2 separate regions of the Homo sapiens genome follow, and region 1 is linked to region 2. Evidence: promoter capture Hi-C in human tissues and cell types (Jung and others, 2019). All regions are on one chromosome and are shown on one strand. The core of a region is centred on a gene start or on the middle of the fragment in contact, and the rest is flanking DNA. Distances in the headings are between cores, read along the strand shown.

Region 1 (7,124 bases), core at 4,360-6,859, 42 kb after region 2:
TAAAATAAATAGTTGATAATTTTTTGATATCTTTTTATTACCAATTTTAAATTTCATTCCACTGTGGGGAGAAAACATACTCTATATGATTTCAGTCCTTTGATATACATTAAGACTTGTTTTATTGCCCAGAATATGAGCTATGAGCTATGTTAGTGAATGTTCCCTGTGCCCCTGAAAGAAGTGTGTGTTCTCGTCAATTTCAATAGCATGTCCTATAAATGCCACTTAGGTGAAGTTGGTTGATAGCATTGTTTAAATCTTGTACACTATTTTTTCCTAGTTTTTATTGATTTTTGTTAATGATTTAGTGAAGTTTCAGTTTCTCAACTACAGTGTAAATTTATATGTTTCTCTCTTTGGTTTTCTCAGATCTTGCTTTATGTATTTTGAAGCTGTGTTGTTCGATGTATACAATTTTAGGATTGTTATGGTTTCCTCATGACAATCCTTATAACAATTTCTGAAGAAATAACCCCTTATGCCTCTGATAATACTCCTTGCCTTGATGTCGACTATATCAATATAGTAATACTAGCTTTCCTGTGTTTATCATTTGCTTATGTCTTTTTCCATTATTTCATTTTTGACCTGTCTTTATATTTAAAGTACATCTCTTATAAAGAACACATAATTGATTCTCATTCTTATATCCAGGCTGACAACCTTTCCCCATTAATATGAGTAGTTAGACCAACTGAATTTAATGTAGTTATTAATATGGTTGATTTTAAATCTACCATCTTTCTAGTTGTTTCCATTTACCCTATCTGTTCTTTTTACTTTTTTCTCCTTTCCTTTATTTTAAATTAATTGAATTTTATTAGTATTCTATTTTGTCTTTGTGCATTTTTTTTAGCTATAAAACTTTGTTTTAGTTTCTCTGGTTGCTGTAGGTATTATAGTGTGTATTGTTAACTTTTCACGATACACCTTGAATTAATATTATACCACTTCACATGTATTGTAAGACCTTTACAACAATTATGCTTTTTTTTTTTTTTTGACAGAGTCTCACTCTGTCACCCAGGCTGGAGTGCAGTGGCACGATCTCAGCTCACTTGCAACCTCTGCTTCCCAGGTTCAAGCAATTCTGGTGCCTCAGCCTCCCAAGTGGTTGGGATTACAGGAGTGTGCCACCACGCCTGGCTATTAACAATATACTTCTATTTATTCATTCACCTTGCCCTTTGTGCCATTATATAATACATTTTATTTCTGTGTATGTTATAAACCCATAATATACTGTGATTATTTTTGCTTCATATCAGAGATACCATCAATTATCTTGTTCTTGTTTGGGTAATTTCCGTTGAGCTGATTTCAAGTTCATGACATTTTCTTCTACACTGTTAAATCTGTTTTTAGGACCATCCAGTGAATTTTTGATCTTGTCATTTCAGACATTGTACTTTTCAGATCTGGGAATTTCCATTTACTTCTTTTTTAGTTTTCATATATCTGCTGTGATTCTTCATCTCTGTATTCATTATGTGCATTTTCTTCTTTAAGGCCTGGAGCATATTTATAATACAGTTGACCCTTGAACAACTCAGGTTTTACCTGTGCAGGTCCATTTATAAGTGGATTTTTAAAAATAAAAGTTACAGCAAGTGCACCTGCCTCTCCTGCTCCCCCTTCTACCTCGTCCACTACTTCTACTTCTGTCACCCTTGAGAGAGCAAGACCAACTCTTCCTCTTCCTCTTCCTCCTTCTCCTCAGCTTACTCAACATGAAGACAATGACGATGAAGACCTCTATGATGATCCACTTCCACTTAATGAATAATCAACATATTTTTTCTTCCTCATGCTTGCCTGCCTGCTTACCTCTCTCCCTCCCTCCCTCCTTCTCTCTTTCTCTTTCTCTCTCTTTCTTTCTTTTGAGATGGAGTCTCACTCTGTCCCCCAGGCTGGAGTGCAGTGGCCCTATCATAGTTCACTGCAGCCTCAAACTCCTGCACTCAAGCTATCCTCCCATCTCAGCCTCCTGACTACAGGTGTGTGCCACCACACCCGACTAATTTCTAAATTTTTTATAGAGATAGGGTCTTGTTATGTTGACCAGGCTGCCTTATGGTTTTCTTAATAACATTTTCTTTTCTCTAGCTTACTTTATTGTAAGAATACAGTGTATAACACGTAAAACTTACAAAATATGTGTTAATCAACTATTTGTTATTGGTAAGCTTCTGGTCAACAACAGGCAGTTAAGTTTTGAGGGATTCAAAAGTTAAACATGGATTTTTGACTGTATGGGGTGTTGGCACCTCTAACGCTCACGTTGTTTTAAAGTCTGCTAAATCATCTGTGTCATCTCTGCGTTTGTTTCTATTAATTACTTTTTCTCTTCTGAGTATGGGTCACATTTTTTCTGCCTCTTTGAATGTCTAGTAATTTTTCTACTGTACGTTAGACATTGCAAATGCTATGTTGTTTTAGTCTGGATTTTATTGTCTTCCTTTAAAGAATCTTGAGAATTTTTCTCCCCTTAACAGGCTGTTAATTTATTGGTGAAACAGTTTGATTGAAGATTATTTTCATTCCTTGTTATTGTGGGCCTAGAAGAGCCCTTGTTCTAGAGCTGCAATGGCAAGAATGCTGCTTTAGGTTGGGTTTGGCTGCCTTGTGCCTCAGTTTAGAAATTTCCCTCAAGTATAAAGCCAGAATGAAGGCGGGGCTTATTCCCATATGTCTTTCCCCATGAAGGAAAACAGCCCTGTATTTTCTGTTGTCTGATGCCTTCAAAAGTTATTTTAAATATTGCACCCAGTTGAATAGTTGTTTATGATGAAAGGGTGATCTTAATACTCAGTACAATATGGTTGGAACCAAAATTACTTTGCTTCACATAGTTTTTTTTTTAGCTTTTTATTTTGAAATAATTTTCAACTGAAAGAAAAGTGGCAGTAAATAGTCCCAAGACTTCCTTACCCAGCTTCCTTTAATGTTAGTATCTCAAGCAGCCAAATATAATTGTCGAAACTAAGAAATTAACATGGGTTCAACACTATCAACTAAACTACAGACCTGATTCAGGTTTCATAAATTTCATCGCTATGTCCTTTTCCCGTTCCAGGATCCAGTCCAGGACATCATATTGTATTTACTTGTCATATCCTCCTAGCCTCCTCAGTCTGAGACACTTCCTCAGCCTTGTCTTATCTTTCGTGACTTTGACGCTTTTGAAGAGTGATGGTAAGTTATTTAGCAGAATTTTCCTCAATTTGGGTTTATCTGATGTTATCTCATGATAAGGTGGAGGTTATGCATTTTTGCAAGAATACCCTAGAAGCAATGCCCATGTCACTGTATCTCATTAGTGGCAAAGTTAACCTAGATCACTTGGTTAAGGTGGTGTCTTCCTTACTACTTTTCCTGTTGTAATTAATAACTTTAGGAGCAATACTTTCAGACTATGCAAATATCCTCTTTCTCCTCAAACTTGTACCCACTAATTTTAGCCTCAACCAGCAGATATTACCTGTAACAATTATTGAGAAGTGAGGCCAGCTGGACTTTCTGGGTCGAGTGGGGACTTAGGGAACTTTCCTGTCTTAAAAGAGGATTGTAAAATGCACCAATTAGCCCTCTGTAAAACGCACCAGTCAGCGCTCTGTAAAACTCACCAGTCAGCGCTCTGTAAAACACACCAATCAGTGCTCTGCAAAATGCACCAATCAGCAGGATTCTAAAAGTAGCCAATCACTGGGAGGACTGAAAAAAGGGCATTCTGATAGGACAGAAACAGAACATGGGCGGGGCCAATAGGGAAATAAAAGCTGGCCACCTCAGCCAGCAGGGGCAACTCACTCGGGTCCCCTTGGATGTGGTGGAAGCTTTGTCCTTTTGCTCTTCACAATAAACCTTGCTGCTACTTACTCTTTGGGTCCGGGACATCTTTAAGAGCTGTAGCACCCACCACGAAGGTCTGCTGCTTCATTCTTGAAGTCAGCGAGACCACGAACCCACCAGCGGGAACCAACTCTGGACACATTATGACTGTGATGACTTTGTTGTTCTAATGGTGATTTTCTATTTTCCAAATTCTTTCTACATTTATTAATTGGATTCTTTGGTAAGGAAGAGCTGTCGCTTCTTCTCATTTATCCCTTTACTCCCCAGTTCTAAGGTACCAGATCCATTTCTTCCCATGCAGCAGGGGAGGCTTTTGTATTATACGAACTTGCAGTTCTTGTCTTTTCTACAGACTGGCCCACGGGTCACCCACAGCGACACACCTTCAGGCTTCCTACACAAATCCTCCGATGTTCTCACGGTGTAAAAGCTGAGACTGTGATCACAAGTACAATTTTGTTTAATCTGAGAGAATGTTTTCTTCTTTAAAAAATATACACACAAGGGGATGGGGTAATACCAGGAAGAAAAAATAGCCACGTGTAGTTTTGGAGGAAAATGTGAGCTCTACCTCTGAGCTGGACTCCATGTTGCCCTCTGGAGAGGATCCTGTTTACAGTGCGTCTCTCCTGCTTCTGGCCCCACCCCGCTTCAAGTCTTGTTTGTTGGTCCTCGTGGTTAAATGACTGCAGAAATGCCCCTAATTATTTTCCTCCCCAACTCAACACTCCTGGTTGCAGCAATTCCTAGCAAGAGGCAAAGTCTATTTCCCTGTCCCTTGAATCAGGGTTGGTTTTGTAACTTGCTTTGGCCAAAAAAATGTGACTGCAGTGGCTGGGTGCAGTGGCTCATGCCTGTAATCACAGCACTTTGAGAGGCGGAGGAGGGAAGATTGCTTGAGTCCAAGAGTTCGAGACCAGCCTGGACAACACAGTGAAACCCTGTCTCTACAAAAAAACACAAAAAATTAGTTTGTGTTGCCATGGTAGCATGCACCTGCAGTCCCACCTACTCAGAAGGCTAAGGTGAGAGGATTGCTTGAGCTGGGAAGGCGAAGGTTGCAGTGAGCCATGATTACACCACTGCACTCCAGCCTGAGCAACAGAGAGAGACTCTGTCTCAAAAAAGAAAAAAAAAATAGAATTGTGGCAGCAGAGACCAGCCACCAATTCTGAGCCTAGGCCCTAAGAGGACCCAGGACTCTTACCAGGGGCTGGCCTGCTGGAGGAAGAGAGACAGTGGCCCAGTGGTCCACCGTGACTCCAGCTGAGAGCTGCCCAATCTTCAGGCATGGAAGTGAGGGCATCCTAAACCAGCCAGCCCACCTGCTGTCTGCAGACATACGATGAGTCCAGCCAAGATCCCCCGAGCTTCATCCAGATAAGCAGGACTGCCCGGCTGACCCCTGGGCTTGTGAATAGAAGAAGCACTCCTCATGTGAAGTCACCGAGTTTGGAGTGGTTTGCTGTGCAGTGATAACTACTTGGTACTGTCCTTCCTGAGCCACTCTCACTCTAAACCCAGATCCCGCAACACCTCCAGCAGATCCCCAGGACTCTTGGGATGCAGTGCACGGAGCATTCGCTTGGTCCAGCCCATTATAGGAGGGATGACACCAAGAGGGATCAGGTGACCTGCCCAAAGGGAGGCAGCAAGGTACAGGCATATTGTGGGGCTAGAACCCTGGACTCCAGCTTCCTAGTCGAGTGCTTTTTCCAGGACCCTTTCTGCTTTTACTTTGACAACTTCTTCCCCAGAGCTCAGCTCTCACTCCTCAGACCAAGTAGCTCCAAATCCTTGGGCTCACCTGCACAGACCCAAGGCTGACCTTGGCAATCCAGAACTCCTGCCCATCTGGGACAGGTGTCAAAAACGAGGGCTCCTCTTGCTTCACCTGGATAGTGGCCACCTCTACCTCTCTCTCATCTTTCTCCTGCAGGAAACGGCCGTGGTCCTGCCAGCCCCCGCTTTTGGAGGGGCCTCCGACACTCTGGGCAAACCTAGTTTCTGAGGACTCATTGCCCCAGAAGCATTGGCTAAGTGAAAGATTAATGAACAGAGGTTCATAGGATCTGGAAAGGCTTCTAACTGGAATGATCTGAAACTAAAAATTAATGACAATGGCAGCCGCAATGTAATAGCTGTGTGGTTTATTGAGGTCTTACTGCATCCCCGATGGAGCTGAGTGTGTCTCATGCTGTGTGTCATTTCATGCATGCAACAACTGTATGATACAACTACTATTATCCCTGTTTTACGGGGAAGAAACTCAGAGAAATGCAGAAATTGTCCATCATCACACTGGATCACCCCCTTGGAGAAGCTTCCCTGACCACCCTAGCAAGGACACAAGCCCCACCACTGCCTGCCCCTGAGCACTGGTCACATTGGACATCTCACCCACGCATTGGTTTACTGTCCGGCTTTCCCTTGTGGGACACACAGCCACATGAGCCCAGTCTGTCCCGCTCACAGCTGTATCCAAGGCCTGGAGCATGGCAACAGGCAAACAGAGACCCGTGGAGGGAATGGTCGGGGAATATTGGGGTTGTAAGAATGGCCCTCGTGGAGGGGAGCAAGGTGTCAATCAGCTGATGACATAGTGCATATTTGATGACCCCTTGGTGGGTGCAGGTTGCTGGGGACCTGGTGCTATCGAAGATTACAGATGGGCTGGCAGGGGCCCTTTCTCTCTTATGGAATCAAGCACGGCCCGCAAAGGTTGCTACTGAGCCGGCCTGCAGTGGCCCCGACCAAGCAGTGGCCCCGGCTGCAGCCAGGGCCTTTGGAAACCTCATCAAAATGAAGAGTGGCCTCGTGCGTGCTGACCGGGGGGCTGGTGGCCCACGGAGACGGCATTCCCAGAGACTACAAGGAGCCGGTGGCCCTTTCTTCAACCGCCAAACAACAGCCAATCTCGGCCCCACAAAGACGGGCGCATGAATCACTTCTGCAGAGACTGCATTTCCTTTGAGGGGCTGTCACTGGCACCGGGCGGTAAGAAAACATTTTGTCATGCACATCAGCTGCCTTTCTCTGGGCCTTGGGTGGCCCAGGGCCACTCCCCCACCCAAGGGGACGGCTGTCCCGGTCAGTGCTCATCCATCAAGCTCATAATGAGGTGGCAAATTGCTGTCTTGGAGAGACACTCAAAAGCCAACTACTTCAGCCTGTCCATGGAGGTGTCAACGGCCGGGCCCCAGGAGATAGCTCCCTCCAGGAGGCCTTCTATGGGGGCAGAGGTGGGAGTTTTACTGATCACTAAA
Region 2 (7,099 bases), core at 564-3,063:
GTGCGGCTCCGGAGGCGCATGTCCCCAGGACGCCCTCTCAGGGCTGCGGCTTTCCTGGAGGAAGCCGCGGTTTGCTGAGGCCGCCGCCGCCACCTTCAAGCGGCGGAACCGCTTCCTGCGCCCGGGGCCGGAGCCGAGCGCCGCGCGGAGCACCCGAGGACAGCTGTGGTCTTGACTGCCCTCCCACGCTCCCCACGCGGTCCTCCCGGGCCCTGAGCTCCGCTATCCTGCTCCTCAAAGGGCTCGGCGCGGGCCTCAGGTCCCTGTGACCAGAGGAGCCCAACCGTGTAGTCCGGCAGACTCCCGCGGTGAGCGCAGCCCGGGCCGCGGGTCCTGCGTGCGGGGGCCGGAGTGTGTGTGTCTGCACCCCCAGGCCCGGGCGGACACCGTTCCGCGCTCGTGATCCGCACGTCCCGACGGCGAGGGCCTCCACCCTCCTGTCGCTGTGCGGCCAGGGCGGAGGCGGGGGAGGTGCAGATTCCAGCGCGGGGAATAACTGTCGGTGGCGGCCGCGGCCAGGGAACCGAGCTCCGCAGGGCAAGAGTCCTCCGCGCAGAGGCAGCAGCGGGGGCGGCCACCTGGGCAGCCGCGAGCGGGGAGGGCGGAGGGGACGGCGGGGCGTCCAGGGGTCGGCAGGAGGAGGAGAAGTCGTCAAAATAATAAAGAGGATGATAAATGCCTTGTCCGGCTCCTTTTCTCCGACACATTCAAAGGGCTTAAACTTGTCAGAGCTGCCCAAAGCAGCAGAGCCTGGAGCCCCGGGGTCGCCTAGCTCGCGTCCCCTCAGACCAGCGGGCCGGACCGGGGACGGACTCTGACAGCCGCCGGCGCCCTCTTCGGACGTGAACGCCCATGCCCCCGAGTTCTGCTCGAACCCCAGCGCGCGCTCTTCTCCCGGACGTGTAGGTTGAGGAGGGCACCCTGGCATTCCCCTTCTGGCAGCGGGAGGCAGACGGTCTTTTCCCGGACACCCCGGGCGCACCATGCCTTCTCCCGGGCCAGACCCCTCCCCGGCGCCGCCTCCCCCGCGGGGCCCCGCAGCGCGCCTTCTCCCGGGCCCGACCCCTCCCGGCGCCGCTTCCCCCGGGGCCCCGCAGCGTCCGGCACTCACTGTAGGCGCTGTTCTCCAGGCTGCCGTTGACGCGGCCGCTCGGGTGCAGCTGGAGGTGGTACTTCGTGGCGCAGTAGAGCTTGCGGCGCCGGGGCGCCCCGCCAAGGTGCTCGTAGACGCCGCCACGGCCGCCCGCATCGCGCCGCAACCGCGCCCCAGGGCCCGCTGCGGGCCAGCCGGGCTCCAGCAGGCTGAGCAGTAGCAGCCAGATTAGGCCCATCGTGGCATCGCGCCCGCCCCGCGGCGGCGGCGGCTGCAGGCGAGCGCGGCGCCCATGGAAGGGGCGGCAGCCGGACAGCTGCGAGGTGCTCGGAGCGGGATCCCGCGCCTGGAGATGCTGACTCCGGCTTCGCGGGAAAGGTGGGGGAAGAAGGGGGAAGGGTGGGCGAGAGAGAGAAAGAGAGGGAGAGTGGGAGAGGGAGAGGGAGAGAGGGAACGCGAGTCCCTTTAATTTCCACCCAGGAGCAATGAAATTTCCGTTGCTGCGCAAAGCGCTGAAAGAAAGGACGGTTCGCCAACAAAAGGCCGACGTGGTCCCCAGGCGGAGGCGCGGGAGGGGCGGGAGGCCGGCGGGTGGGGAGCCCCGCGGGGCTCGGGGTTCGGGCCGGGCGCCGTCTGCATACACTCGCCGCCAGCGCACCGCCGTCGAGCCGCGGCTCCGCTCCGCAGCGCGCCCCACGCCCCCGAAAGCCCTCCTGGCTCTGAAAGGTCCCCTACCCGCCCCTCCCCCGCCCCCTCCCCCAGACCAATTATGCCTCCGAAAATTATAGACCGAGGCCTTGAGGAGGCCGCCCCAGGCCCTGTCACCCCCTCCCGCTCCCCATCAATCCCCCTGCACAATGGGGCCGCCGCCGATGACTGATGTCCGTGAAAACAACTTGCGGGGAAGTCGAGCTGACAAACGCCCATTAAAGGCGGCGCATAATGAAGGGGACCGCGGAGGGCGGCGGCAGGGAGGCTCCGGGGCGCGGGCACGCGTGGGGAGCTCCGGGTTTGTGTCTGCGCCCGGCGCTTCCTGCAGGAGCAGTGGCGCTGTCCTCAGCCTTGCAAGGCGCGGGGCAGGCCGGGTCTGGAGATGCTATCTCCTTTTGCGCACACCAACTGGGCACCCGGAGTGGTGGGGTTAGCTCTCGTCTGGCAGGCCTCGGAGGATCCCGTCCCAGTGACGGTCCAGAGAGGGGCCTGGGGAGGCGGGAGGAGGGACGCGAGAGCCAGAGAAGTGGGCGCCGACAGAGAGCCCTAGAGAGAAAGAGATGCAGATAGAGACAGACAGAAACGGAGGAGGAAAGGACGGGAAAGACATGGAAAATGTGAATGACAGAGATCGCCAAAAAGAGGAGGCAGGGGAGATGGAAAGAAGACAGAGCCGCGGAGAACACCCAGAGAAAAGCACAGGGAGTCTGGTAGCCACAGCGGGTGGGTGATGACAAGAGGAACCCGGTAGAAGCTGGGAATGGGTGTGGGGGAGTCCTGGCCTGGAGGATCTGAATCAGTGCAGATGCCCAGGTGGTCCCCTGGACTGTGTGGGGGTCAAGGTGTATCTCAGGGGGCCCAGTGAAGAGGGGCTTCAAAAAGTATCGGGAAAAGCCATGTCCCCACCCATTTCTCTTGCTTCCTGGTCCTCTGTCCCCCAGGGTCCTGGGGCCAGCAGGAAGCAGGGGCCAGCACAGGGGATTTGCTTCTCTCAACCCTGCCCCAGAGGAGGGCACGCTGTGGAGTCCAGGGGTCTAGGCCACAGCTTTGGCTCCAAGTTGACCAGGGGCTCTGGGGTGAGTTGGGTGGGCTGACATTCCCCAGCCTGCCATCTGCATCAGGGTTTGGGGTCAGGCAAGTGTGCAGGGCACCATGAGCTGTGGCAGTGAGCACACACCCCTGGGACGTGTCCAGCTCCCATGGCCCAATACACACAGGGCAGTGTGTCCTCTGTGAGCCCACTCCAGCGTGCACAGGGTCCAGGTGGCCATCCTGAAGGAGGGCGCCCCCAAGCCATCCCCGAGCACCTCAGTCTTAGTCAGGGTCTCCTAGCCGCTGCCCCAGGGCCAGCTTGTGAGAGTCCTTGAACAGGCCAGAGGCCAGCCACTGAACTACTGGAGCCTCAGACTCTTGATGGAGACTGTGTTACAGGGGTCAGAGGCTGGTGACAGGAAAGCCCCAAAGGACAGCAGCAAGAGGAGAGCTTGTCCAGTGCAGCCCTGTGCAGGCCTGGGCTGGGATGTGTGGTCACCTGGGCTCCCTAAGAGGCATGGAAGAGGCACAGGAAGGAGGTCGCTGCTCTAAATGCCTTAGCTCTGCTACCTCCTGACACCTGGCCAAGAAGAGAGGAGATGTAGTGGCGGGGGTGGGGGGTGCACAAGAAATTCAGAGAGGGGTGCAGTCAGGGGGCACAGTCTGACAGAGAGAGGAGAGAGGACACAATAATGTTTTAAGAGAGAGAGAGCAAGAGCAGCCTGCTGGGGCCAGGGGACTTCCGATGCCCTTTCCTGTCAAGGCTCCGGCTGCCTCCTTGGCAGGACCCCCTCTGGAGGACTGGGAGGAGCCAGAAAAATCTGACCAAGGCAATCTGGGTGTCCATGCCCCTCCTGCTCTACACCTGGGGCCCCCAGCAGTTCCCAGGGAAACTCCCGGGCTCTGGTCTCCAGCCCTGCCCACTGCCAGGTTGCCGTGTGCCCGAGAACCCAAGATGAGGGCAGGGGCTGCTGCCCTGAAGCAGGAGTCCAAAGGTGACCCCTCTATAGGAGGGAAGCTCAGGGGATGGGCAAGAGGTTTCCAGCTCCTAGGGAGAACCTGACACACCAGCCACTCAGTGCATACTCCTAAAATGAATGAATGGTTCGGCCACTTCCTGCCACGAGGCCTTGGCTGTGTAGTGTCGCTCCTGAGATACTGGTTTCTCATGTGTGTGATGCCCCAAAGGTAGGGCCGGAAACTGAGTGGCATTACCTCTGCAAAGCCTCTGGCCTCCCATCAGCGCAGGGCATGCTCCAGCCGCAGGGGACCACAGTTTATGACGCAAACCCTGCTGCCTTTGAGAGTGAAAGAGGGCGCAATTTGCAGTTATACCAGGACAGCCGGTGCCCTGCCTGAGGTCCCTCCTGGTGGCCCTGGCTCACTGTCTGCTGTTCTGGTAAGCATGACTTTTCCGAGGCAGCCAAGCTCTCTGGGCCAAGTTTTCCTCTCTCCTCCGGTCGCTGGCGACAGCCTTCAGCCCGGTCCTTCCATCTGCGGTCCACCCTGCAGTCACGGGAAGTGGTCTGGAGCCCAAAGCTGCCTTCTCCAGCTGCCCCAGCCCCTCTGACAAATGCCGTAGTGTTGGGGGAACCCTGGGGATGCTCACCCACCCGCGTGGACCTCTAGTTCACTTCCCACATCTTCTGGGCTGCGCCTCCAGGCCCTTGCTCACCCACCTATTGAGTTCTTCCTCCTCATCTAAACCTGTTGATCTTTCCAGCCCAGGAAGCCCCCCAGACCCCCACCCTGGGACTCTGGGACCCTCAGGCCCAGCCAAGGGAGGGGAACCTGATTCCTCCACATCTGCCCGGCAGGGGCAGGGGGCTGGGCCACAAAGTCTTGTGTGTGGGGTGGGGCAGAGGCACCCACATAATGGCAACCTCGCCCCTCTCCCTCCCATTCGGAGCCAGGCGGGGGGTGCACCATGCGCTAATAGCGACCCTGTTAATTGCTTCCAAATGGTCAACTGTAGTCATTTGACTAATTGGTCTCTTCCAGAGCCCAGGCTGGACACCCCAGGCCCAGCAGAAGTGCTCCTACCAGCATCCCCCGAACCTCTGCACTGGGACCCTGTCCCCCAGAGCACCCCCAGCCCTATCTGGTACCTGAGTCTGCCCCTAGCCTCTTCCCCTGGAGAGAGAGCTGGGGTGGAGAGAGGGCAGAGAACAGGGTCCTATGGTGTGGCCGCAGGTGGCTGGCCAGGGACTGTCAGATGTGATGCTGACTCCCAGCCCCAAACTCACTCTAATTATGTTGCCTGCCCCCCCATCCTCTTACCCCATCCTTGTCCCCAAGAGCAGTGGGAGAGAGACCCAGCCTGCCTGTGTCACTGGGAGACCATGGGTCCCTGAAATTCTGGGAGCAGCCCTGATCAGCCCCACATTACAGATGAGAAAGGGAGGCTCAGAGAGGTGAAGTGACTTGCCCGGGGTCACACAGCCAGGAGATGAGGCGAGAAGACTGGAATGCCCCTTCTGGCTACGGGACCCAGGACCCGAGCAGTGGGGAGAGGGAAACCATTGCCCCTCTAAGTCCCTCTGGGGCAAAGCTGGCACTTTGCTTCTGGCAAAGTTAGGAGCCCCCGCAGGCAGGGGTGGGATGGAAGGCACATCTCCCCGCAGTGGGGCCTGCGCAGCACTTTGAGGCTCATCCACGGTGTGGCGTGTGCCAGTGTGTCCTCCCCTTTTCTGCCCTAGTGGCATTCCGTCGTGTGCACAGACCACATGCTGTTTATTTTTCATCCATGGATGGATGTTCGCCTTATTTCCTGGCTACTTGGCTATTTTGGAGCCCCAAGCTGAGACATAAAGGAGGATTCTCTCTGGGTAGAGGAGAGGAGGGAGCAGAGGGCCCCCTGGCCCAGGGACAGACACCTCCAGCTGCTCTTTTTCTTCCCCACAACACCGAGGGCAGCCTGTGCCTGTCAGTGCCTGGCATCGGGCTCCAGGCAGAGCAGCCAACAGGGCTTGTAGATGCCATCTTCTCCCTGTGTCCTCACAGGTTCGTCCCTCTGTGTGTGCCTGTGTCCTCATTACCTCTTCTTATAAGGACCCCAGTCAGATTGGACTGGGGCCATTCCACAGACCTCGCTTTACTTTAATCGCCTTTGAAAGACCCTAGCTCCAATTGCAGCCACATTCTGAGGTCCTAGTGAGTAGGGTTCCAACATACAAATCTTGGGGGACACAGTTCCGCCCAAAACAAGTGCAAATGATGAGGTACACCCCCAGTCCTGTGGATGAGGTGGGGTGGAGGGAAGGGAAGAAATTCACATCCCCACCTCCTCCCACCATGAAGTCAACTGCAGCTGGGCGAGGCCAGGCTTGATGGGGAGCTGTGGCAGCTTTGATGGGGAGCTGTGGTGGCAAACCCACACTCAAGCAATCACCCTGTGTCCCTGCCTTGCACCCCCCTACCCCTCTCCACCCTTTGCCCAGGCCAGTCCCTCCACCTGGGGGCCCTTTCACCCTTTCCATCTAGAAGCTCCTGCCATTCCTGCAGACCTGGCCCCGGCCCCTGGAGGGGCCCACACCCCAGGCAGAGCGAGTCTCTTCCTCTGGCCTCCCTGGCCTTTGCTCCTTCCATGCTGCCCTGATACCTAGGCCTGTTTCTCGTCAGCAGCAGCTCAGGCAGGGCAGCTTGCTCTAGAGGGCAGGCAGGCTTTGTTTACCTCTCCCCTGTGCTGACCTGTGCGAGATGTGGCCAGGACACTTGGACAGTGGGCAGGAGGCAGGGATGGTGAGGTGGGGATAGAGGGAGGAGTGCCGGGCTACCCACTCCCAGTCTAGGATGTTCCTCCTCCACACCTGCATGTTCTGTGTTCTCCTTAAACCATCACGGTGCTGCTTTGAGGCTCCTGTGTCTGCTAGGAAAAAGGGGCTGCGCTGCTGGGGCCTTCATTCAGCCGCCTACAACTGGGGGAGGCTGAGGAGTGCTACAAATACAATCACAGGAGCCAGCATCGATGGACTGATGGGCCCTGGTATGCATGGTCTATCTTGGGGGTGGTGGCACATGGGTCCAGGACCACCCAGATTCCATTTTCTGCTCTATTCCTTACCCTGCATAAGCGCTCCTACAGCTGTCAGCCTCTGATATCAATTCCAAGTTACTGGATTTTTTTTGAGGCCGGGTCTCACTCTGTCATCCAGGGTGGAGTGCAGTGGCTAGAGTTTGGCTCACTACAACCTCCACCTCCCAGGCTCAAGTGATCCTCCTGCCTCAGCCTCCCAAGTAGCTGAGACTACAGGCATGTGCCAC

Evidence for each region. Contacts are between HindIII fragments. The study calls those that stand out against the background at their distance.
Region 1: a fragment that was not itself captured here is called in contact with the fragment with the promoter of FGF3 in region 2 in 2 of the 25 tissues and cell types used here (adrenal gland and stomach).

The regions. Positions count from the first base shown.
Region 1 is chr11:69,855,812-69,862,935 of GRCh38, forward strand. No RefSeq gene overlaps it. Among named protein-coding and RNA genes, the nearest start is that of FGF3, 40 kb to the left of the region's middle. The HindIII fragment of the contact is 5,190 bases long and covers 3,015-7,124 here.
Region 2 is chr11:69,817,603-69,824,701 of GRCh38, forward strand. It overlaps FGF3 (fibroblast growth factor 3), which reads right to left and starts at 1,814. Exons shown (of 3, transcript NM_005247.4): 1 at 1,112-1,814. The coding sequence starts at 1,331. LOC107984368 (a long non-coding RNA gene) reads left to right here and starts at 1,106. Exons shown (of 3, transcript XR_001748071.2): 1 at 1,106-1,471. RefSeq lists promoters at 1,429-2,266, 1,677-1,823. The HindIII fragment of the contact is 24,587 bases long and covers 1-7,099 here.